3 separate regions of the Homo sapiens genome follow, and regions 1 and 3 are each linked to region 2. Evidence: promoter capture Hi-C in human tissues and cell types (Jung and others, 2019). All regions are on one chromosome and are shown on one strand. Each heading gives the region's core, a stretch centred on a gene start or on the middle of the fragment in contact. The rest is flanking DNA. Distances are from core to core; before and after follow the strand shown.

Evidence for each region. Contacts are between HindIII fragments. The study calls those that stand out against the background at their distance.
Region 1: a contact is called between a fragment that was not itself captured here and the fragment with the promoter of ZNF324B in region 2, in 1 of the 25 tissues and cell types used here (spleen).
Region 3: a contact is called between a fragment that was not itself captured here and the fragment with the promoter of ZNF324B in region 2, in 1 of the 25 tissues and cell types used here (dorsolateral prefrontal cortex).

What each region holds. Positions count from the first base shown.
Region 1 is chr19:58,164,045-58,166,975 of GRCh38, reverse strand. All of the region lies in intron 1 of LOC124904784 (a long non-coding RNA gene), which reads right to left. Among named protein-coding and RNA genes, the nearest start is that of ZNF329, 15 kb to the right of the region's middle. The HindIII fragment of the contact is 6,997 bases long and covers 1-2,931 here.
Region 2 is chr19:58,450,230-58,453,131 of GRCh38, reverse strand. It overlaps ZNF324B (zinc finger protein 324B), which reads right to left and starts at 1,510. Exons shown (of 4, transcript NM_207395.3): 1 at 1,428-1,510. RefSeq lists silencers at 1,071-1,500, 1,478-1,804. The HindIII fragment of the contact is 12,073 bases long and covers 1-2,902 here.
Region 3 is chr19:58,076,353-58,079,358 of GRCh38, reverse strand. No RefSeq gene overlaps it. Among named protein-coding and RNA genes, the nearest start is that of ZNF135, 19 kb to the right of the region's middle. The HindIII fragment of the contact is 6,468 bases long and covers 1-3,006 here.

The DNA of each region.
Region 1 (2,931 bases), core at 194-2,693, 290 kb after region 2:
CAATAATATGAGAACAACTCCTGAATGCTCTTCCACGCAAATTACATGTATGGGGTTTTCCTCAGTATGAGTCCTCTGATGTCACATCATAAGGGCTAGGCTACGTCTGAAGCCTTTCCCACGATGACTGTATCCATCACTTTGCTCTCCAGTGTGTCTTCTGTGATTTTTGAGTAGTGGAGGAGCAAAGTGTAAAACCTTTCCCTGAATGATTCCCTTCATAAGGTGTCTCTATAGATTCTTAGCTATAGGGTAAAAGTGTTCACTTCTTTAGAAGAATTTCCTAAATTCACTGCAAATATATAATTTCCCACAAGTATAAATTGTCTCATATTGAATAAGGTATAATTTGTGTCTACAGCCTTTGCTACAGCGATTACATTTATAGTATTGTTCTCCTGTATAAGTTCTGAAACATACTGAAAGAAATATTTCTTAATAAAGACTCTCCAACACTCAACACATTTGTAAGGTCTATTTCCTGAGAGAGTTTGCTCATACATCAGTGGGGTTGAGCTCTGTTTAAAGACTTCTTTACACATACTACATTTATATGGTCTCTCTCCAGTATGACTTCTCTGATGTCAGAAAGTATTTACCATAAACAGGGATTTCTCACATTCAGAACATCTGGAGGGTTTGTCAACTGTGTGAGTGCTCTCAAAACAAAGATGAGAGGAGCTCTGAATACACTTTTCCACATTCCTTACATTCAACTCAACTCTCTCTAACATGAATTCGCTTACATTGACTGAGACTTGTGCTACACTTAAAAAATTTACTACGTATATTTCATATATAAGGCTTTTCTACACTGAACTGTTTGCAAGTCTAAGAAGTTGAGTGTTTTGACCAAAAGCATTCCCAAAATCATAATTTTCAGGGGTTTTTCCCTGTGCATTTATGGTTTATTAAATCTGAATGTTGTTTTACAATGAGTCATGTATGTAGTGGTATTCATTGATAAGAATATTGTTTAGTGGGCCAGGCACGGTGGCTCACGCCTGTAGTCCCAACATTTTGAGAGGCCAACGTGGGTGGATCACAAGGTCAGGAGTTCAAGACCAGCCTGGCCAAGATGGCGACACCCCTGTCTCTACTAAAAATACAAAAATTAGCCAGGTGTGGTGGCGGGTGCCTGAATCCCAGCTACTTGAGAGGCCGAGGCAGAGAATTGCTTGAACCCAGGAGGTGAAGGTCGCAGTGAGCCAAGATCATGCCATTGCACTCCAGCCTGGGTGACAGAATGAGACTCTGTCTCAAAAAACAAAAACAAGGCCAGGCGCGGTGGCTCATGCCTGTAATGGCAGCACTTTGGGAGGCCAAGGAGGGTGGATCATGAGGTCAGGAGATCGAGACCATCCTGACTAACACGGTGAAACCCCGTCTCTACTAAAAATACAAAAAATTAGCTGGGTGTGGTGGCGCGCGCTTGTAGTCCCAGCTACTCTGGAAGCTGAGGCAGGAGAATGGCATGAACCCGGGAGGCAGAGCTCGCAGTGACCTGAGATCCTGCCACTGCACTCCAGCCTGGGTGACAGAGCAAGACTCTGTCTCAAAAACAAAACAAAACAAAACAAAAAAGAATATTGTTTAGTGGAAGAAGGCTTGAATTCTACTTAACATTAGCTGTGCATTTCTTATTCTTGCAACCTCATTCCTGAATCAGTGTTCCTCAAGCATCATTTGTTTGACTCATCTCTCCTGGTCCTCCTTCTGCTTCTCTAAGTGGACCTTACAGTCCTGGTTTCTTCCAAATGTGAAGAAATGAAGCTCATTCTTTGTGAATCTTTCCACTTTCAGGATGGCATTTTTGTTGTTGTTGTTTTTATTTTGTTTTGTTTTGTTTTGAGACGGAGTCGTCCTCTGTCACCCAGGCTGGAGGGCAGTGGCGCAGTCTCGGCTTACTGCAACCTCTGCCTCCTGGGTTCAAACAATTCTCCTGCCTTAGCCTCCCAGGTAGCTGGGATTACAGGTACACGCCACCATGCCCAGCCAATTTTTGTATTTTTTTTTTAGTAGAGACGGGGTTTCACCGTGTTGGCCAAGCTGGTCTCAAACTCCTGACCTTGTGATCCACCCACCTCAGTCTCCCAAAGTGCTCGGATTTCAGGCATGAGCCACCACGCCTGGCCTGGCATATGGTTTTCAGACAAATGTCTTCCTTCCTGGTTATCTCTTTGCTTTTGATGATAGTTTCACAATCCAAAAAAAAAAAAAAACCAGATACATTTGTACATCCCCTACAGTTGTTCACTGAATAAATTATGGCTTGTTCAATCAATTAAAAAACCATAATTTTAAGAGCTGGAGAGAAAATGCTGGTATTAAGCACATCGAAAGCATGTTGATTTGTTTCCAAATCTGTCTTGCCAGGAGCGACTGAGCAAATAAGAATAAGCCCAGTCTCTCCAGGTGGCTGATAGGAAAATAGATCAATCTCTGCTAGTAGTCATTTCTCACTCTCTTTTCTTTTTCTTTCTTTCTTTTTTTTTTTTTTTCTTTTGAGACGGAGTCTCGCTCTGTCGCCCAGGCTGGAGTGCAGTGGCACGATCTTGGCTCACTGCAAGCTCTGCCTCCTGGGTTCACGCCATTCTCCTGCCTCAGCCTCCTGAGTAGCTGGGACTACAGGCGCCCGCCACCATGCCCAGCTAATTTTTTGTATTTTTAGTAGAGACGGGATTTCACCATGTTAGCCAGGATGGTCTCGATCTCCCAACCTCGTGATCCACCAGCCTCAGCGTCCCAAAGTGCTGGGATTACAGGCGTGAGCCACCGCGCCCAGTCTCCTCACGCTGTTTTCAAGATGCTCTTCTGGACCCCAGTGCTTTGGGGGCTTGTCCTGAGCCCTCTTCTCTCATCCACCAGTATGGTCTGTTTTATTCTGCTGGCTTCAAACACCATCTGAACATTGATGAATCACAATTTGTA
Region 2 (2,902 bases), core at 261-2,760:
AATTTATTTATTTATTTATTTATTTATTTATTTATTTATTTATTTATTTTTATTTTGGAGACGGAGTCTCACTCCGTCACCCAGGCTGGAGTGCAGTGGGGCAATCTCGGCTCACTGCAAGCTCCGGCTCCCGGGTTCACGCCATTCTCCTGCCTCAGCCTCCCGCCACCACACCTGGCTAATTTTTTTGGATTTTTAGTAGAGACCGGGTTTCACTGTGTGAGCCAGGATGGTCTCGATCTCAGCGCTCCCGCAATTTCTTTCCCACATTGCTGCCACCCTCTCCTATTCAGCCACCTGCCGAACTCCTCCCCTGATAGCCTCAGGCACCCCAGCCGGTTTTCTTTACCCTCAAGCTGTAACTCCGCACGCCTGACTGCTCATCGCCTTCTTCAGTCCAGTTTATAGGCCCTGTCCTCAGCCCAGGACACCAACAACGTCAGGTCCAGTGACATGACCAACCTGGGACATCCCAGACTCTTGATCTTTCCCCTGAAGGAAACCTGCTTTCCTTTCAATTCTCCTTTCTATCTACAGCAGCTCTCTTCTTCCAGGCGCTCAGGCTGAACAACATGGGGTACTTAGTTCTTCAAACAGCCCACACCTGATGCATCCGCAGATCCACCAGAATTCACCTGGTCGCCCACCTCCACTGCTGCCCAGACTGTGGCAGTCGGTTCTTCCCTTCATGCCGACACCCCTGCATGTCTGTTCTCCACGCAACAAACGGTGGAACCGTTTTAAAGTCCCAACTCAGAGGATGTCCTGATTCTGTTCAAAACTTCTATGTCTCCCGACGCCCTCGAGATAAAGCCCACTCCCTCGCCTGCTACTGCAGCCGCACACATCCCCTCTACTCCAGCTCCACATCGAGAGCGCTCAGTCCCAGAAGCATCTGGGCTTCGGCTCCCCTCCCAGGTTTTGCACACGCAGGACTCTCCCCTCGGAGCCTCCTTCGGGACCTCAGCCCCCTGGCTGCCGGAAGTCGGGAGCTCACCAGTGCCCTGGACGCAGGAGTTTGCACTGACCCCCGCAACCCCCCCAGGGCAGGGAGAGGAAAGACGACTAGGCGAGGTCTAGGAAGCGGCCTCACTCCGTGGGGGCGCAGTCTGTGTGAGCAGGGACTCCCCCGCCCCCCCGGCGCGGGCTTGTCAGCGCCACCGCCGCCAGCGGAACCCGCAACTGGGAGGGAAGAAAGGCATGGACCACCCGGGACCGCCATCCCCGCCAGCAGCCTCCCGCGGCTGCCCCGCGCCTCAGCCTGCCCGGCAGTCATGGGCGCAGAATGCCCAATGCGCTGCCTCCTGGGCTTCCGCGGGGCGGGAGAACGCGTGGTTCCCGCCGGGGCCCGACCGCCCCCGGGCCGACCACGTCATACTCGAAGATACCGAGGCTTGGGGGCGCGGCCGGCTGCTCGTGGTCCGTACCTTCCTGGCCGCCCGCCTCGGGCCCCGACCCGCGCGCCACAGCCCAGACCACCGGTGTGGCCTGACGCGAGCAGCCAAGTGACAGTCCCAACGCCGGAAGTCCAGCCCCCAGAGCTCACATTGCCCCAATACGCGCGCAGACGCTTGCGCACAGCCTTCTGGGTTATGTGGTTCCTGCCTGTTTTTCGGCGCGGAGGCGGGGCCATTACCAGTCTCCATGGCAACGGCTAAGCGCCGCCGCGCTGGGCGCCTGGAAATGGAGTAGCGCAGCTGCCGCGGGTTTCCAAGGGCTCCGTGGCACTGGTTGAGTCGCCCGGCAGGTTGTCCCGCGTTGGGGATTCCCAGTTCCTGGCACCCACCTAAGCAGCCCTGGAGACTAAACCCTGCAGGTGTGAAAGCAGAAACTGCGGAGGTTCCAGAAGGCAACACCAGCAGGTAGCAGGGAGGAGAAAACGCACCGGGTAGGGCAGGTGTAGGTGGAGGAGCAGATGCCTGGAGCTCCGGGTTCCCTTCCCAGCTTTGCATCTCACTGACTGTGCATCCTGGGCGAGGGTTTGATCTCTCTGTGTGTCAGTGTCCCGTAAAGGTTTAAGGTCCGTTTTTCAACCTCTACACCAAGAATTCTCAGCCTGTAATGACACTACCCGCTTGTCATTTGTCTTGATTCTGTGATTGTTCTTGGACGCTCGCCCAAAACTTGTTTTCCTTGTAACTTGGACGAGCAGAAGGTAATTCCCCAGCCTTGCTTGTCCTTAGACCATCTAGTTCTTGCTTTGCCCCACACATCACAACATGGATGCTTTGTTCCTTTTTTCTCTGGACCAATCTAAGTGTCTTTGACACATAACAACAAAAGGCAGGGCAGTCTCAATGTAGACTGACCATGTTGTTGGCAGAGAATAAACGATTCTCTCTTTGTTGCTTCCCTGTGAGGGTCTTGTTTTTAGGATCCTTAGACAGTTCTCAGATGTCAAGTACGTTAATTCATTTTGTCTTCCTCTATACCCACCTCCATCTATAAATATCTGTCTACTGTCAGCTATAACTGTCCACAGAATTGATTCTACTTGTAGATCCCTATAGTGTAAGATAGCTCGACAATTTTTGAATGTTTTTATTTAAATTTTTCCTGCTTTGAAAGAATTTAAGAACACTTAAGTACTATTGTGATTTAATCAAATGCTTAGAGGCATTATTAACATTTCAAGCAATTTTTTTTTACTTTTTTTTTTTTTTTTTTGAGACAGGGTCTCACTCTCTTACCCAGGATGGAGTGCAGTGGTGCATACTCGGGTCACTGCAACCTCCGCCTCCCATGCTCAAACAGTCCTCCAACTTCAGCCTCCCAAGTAGCTGGAACTACAGGCAGGAGCCACGATGCCTGGTGTATTAGTCTGTTTTCACGTTGCTGATAAAGACATATCTGAGACTGGGTAATTTATAAAGAAAAAGAGGTTTAGTGGACTCATAGTTCC
Region 3 (3,006 bases), core at 62-2,561, 370 kb after region 2:
AGAGTTTTATGAATCAGTGTCAACTAGTGCAATCATTTTGGAAAGCTAACAGTCCAACTGTATTCAGTAACAATACGGGGCCAGGCACAGTGGTTCACACCTATAATCCCAACACTTTGGGAGGCCAAGGTGGGAGGATCCCTTGAGCCCAGGAGTTCAAGACCTCCCTGGGCAACATAGTGAGACCCCACTTTTTCCTCCACAAAAAGGAAAAAAAAGGACCAAAAATATATATATACACAAGGATGCTGGTTTGCATGAAGTTAAATACTATGACTTAAATATGAATGGTAGAGCCATTCAAAGCAATAGTAAAAAGGCATAAATGATAATTAAGACTAGCAAAATCGAAGAATTTTTTTTTTTTAGACAGAGTCTCGCTCTCGCTCTGTTGCCCAGGCTGGAGTACAATGGCGTGATCTCAGCTCACTGCAACCTCCGTCTCCCAGCTCCAAGCAATTCTCCTGCCTCAGCCTCCGGAGTAGCTGGATTACAGGTGCGCACCACCACACCTGGCTAATTTTTGTATTTTTAGTAGAGACGGGGTTTCATCATATTGGTCAGGCTGGTCTCAAACTCACGTCCTCATGATCCACCCGCCTCAGCCTCCCAAAGTGCTGGGGATTACAAGCGTTAGCCACCGCGCCCGGCGCTGGAAGAGTAATTTGTAAGTGTAGTTCAAGTAGAATGTAACTGTTGATTCTGTTGCAACTGTGTAAACAGTGGGCATTAGTTGTCAAATCCTAGCAGACAAAGTATAGAAATGCAAAGAGTAGTTGTGTTAGGGTCATGAAATTATGAGGACATTTATTTCAGTTTTTTAAATTCCTTTGAAAGTTTTTTTTGTTTTTTTTTTGAGACAGAGCCTCGTTCTGTCACCCAGGCTGGAGTGCAGTGGCACAATTTCAGCTCACTGGAAGCTCTGCCTCCCAGGTTCAAGCGATTCTCTCGCCGTGGTGTACTGAATAGCTGGGATTACAGGCCCCTGCCACCATGCCCGGCTAACTTTTGTATTTTTAGTAGAGATGGGGTTTCACCATGTTGGCCAGACTGGTCTCGAACCCCTGGCCTCAAGTGATCTGCCCACCTCAACCTCCCAAAGTGCTAGGTGTGAGCCACCGCGCCCAGCCATGGGCTTTTATAATAAAGTTCATTTTTCACCATTTTAAAAAGAATTCTCCCAATTATGTAAAAGTTAAAAACACAGATTCGGCCGGGCACTGTGGCTCATGCCTGTAATCCCAGCACTTTGACAGGCCCAGGTGGGAGGATCACCTGAAGTCAGGAGTTCAAGACCAGCTTGGCCAACATGGTGAAACCTTGACTCTAGTACAAATACAAAAAAATTACCTAGGCATGGTGGTGCGTGCCTGTAGTCCCAGCTACTTCAAGAGGCTGAGGCACAAGAATCATTTGAACCCAGAGGCAGAGGTTGCAGTGAGCCGAGATCGTGCCACTGCACTCCAGCCTGGGCAACAGACTACTCCTTTTGACATCTCAGTGTATTTATGTCTCCCAGTCATTTTTCAGGGTATGAGATGTGAGTATAATGTGTTTGGTATATGTGTAGTCTGCGTACATTCTAAGTGTGTCTCTTGGGTATCATGAAAAAATGAGTGAGGTGTCTGATGGGTCTCGGGAATACCCTGTGGACTTCCTTCAGGCAGATACAGAACAGGATAGGGTGATGTGCTTTTGATGCAAAGAAAGGCAGATACTCCATTCTGCCTACCCTGAGTCCAGTGAAGTCAGTGATTTATTAGTAGCTGTTCCTTCAACCTGAGAGGCTCCTGGGATGGGGCCACACTTGGGAACTATGGGCTTCGCAGACAAACTGCTTCAGGAAGTTTGGGCACAGTTCTCACTTGAGGCTTCCGGGTCTGTTTCAGAATCACCCAGTGCCTTGGTGTGCAGATTACCAAACCCCCTCGGACCAACCAAAGCAAGGTCCCAGGTTTAACACCCTCCACCTTCAGGTGGTTTTCACTCACATCAAAATGGGAGATCCATTACCCTTGGCAGTGCTGGGTTCTGTCTTCCCAGTGTCCATGCAGAAGTCTCTAAGACGAGGGTTGCTGGAACCAGGGGTCGATCCAGATTTGTTGGGCCTAAGGCTCACACAACTGAGGGGTCCCTCTTCAGAAGAATAATTCAAAATTACAAAGATAAAATTAGGCGCTTGGTCTTGAAGGGATCCCTGAAAGTGAGGGACCTAGAGTTTCAGCTTACTTTCATGGCAAATCCATGAAGCCAGAGCCTCAAAACATAGTGCAGCCCAGCCTTCCCTCAACTCGAGAGAACATGAATTTGTAGAAAGGTTCCCAGATGTCTCAATGAAATGAACAGCTTTCCAAAGTCCAGCCTCTGGCTGACCAGGTAGCTCTTGAGACACAGGCTCCTGAGGGACCAGCCACATGCGATGGGGGCAACTGCCAGGGAAATCTGCTCAGTGAGAGGGTGGCTTCTGGGACATGGTAAATCTAAGCTCCCCAGCTCCTCACCAAGGCCCCAGTACTGGGGAGGTCTCTCCAGCTGTGGCTCTGCCTGTCTTTTCACGGAGGTTTGCCCTGATGCCATGGTTTTAATGTGACGTCCCTCACCCCATTCACCAAACACAATAATCCCCAAGTTGTTATCATCTCTGGGCTGGTATTCATCTTATCACTTTTTTTTTTTTTTTTTTTTTTGAGACAAAGTCTTGCTCTTGTCGCCCAGGCTGGAGTGCAGTGGCACAATCTCGGCTCACTGCAAGCAATTCTTCTGCCTCAGCCTCCCGAGTAGCTGGGATTACAGGCTTCTGCCACCATGCCTGGGTAATTTTTGTATTTTTTAGTAAAGACAGGGTTTCACCATGTTCTCCAGGCTGGTCTCGAACTCCTGACCTCAGGTGATCCACCCGCCTCAGCCTCACAAAGTGTTGAAATTACAGGTGTGAACCACTGCGTCTGGCCCGTCTTACTGTGTTTTCTCCGCTATGACTCACCTTGCTTTTCTTCTGATGACTTG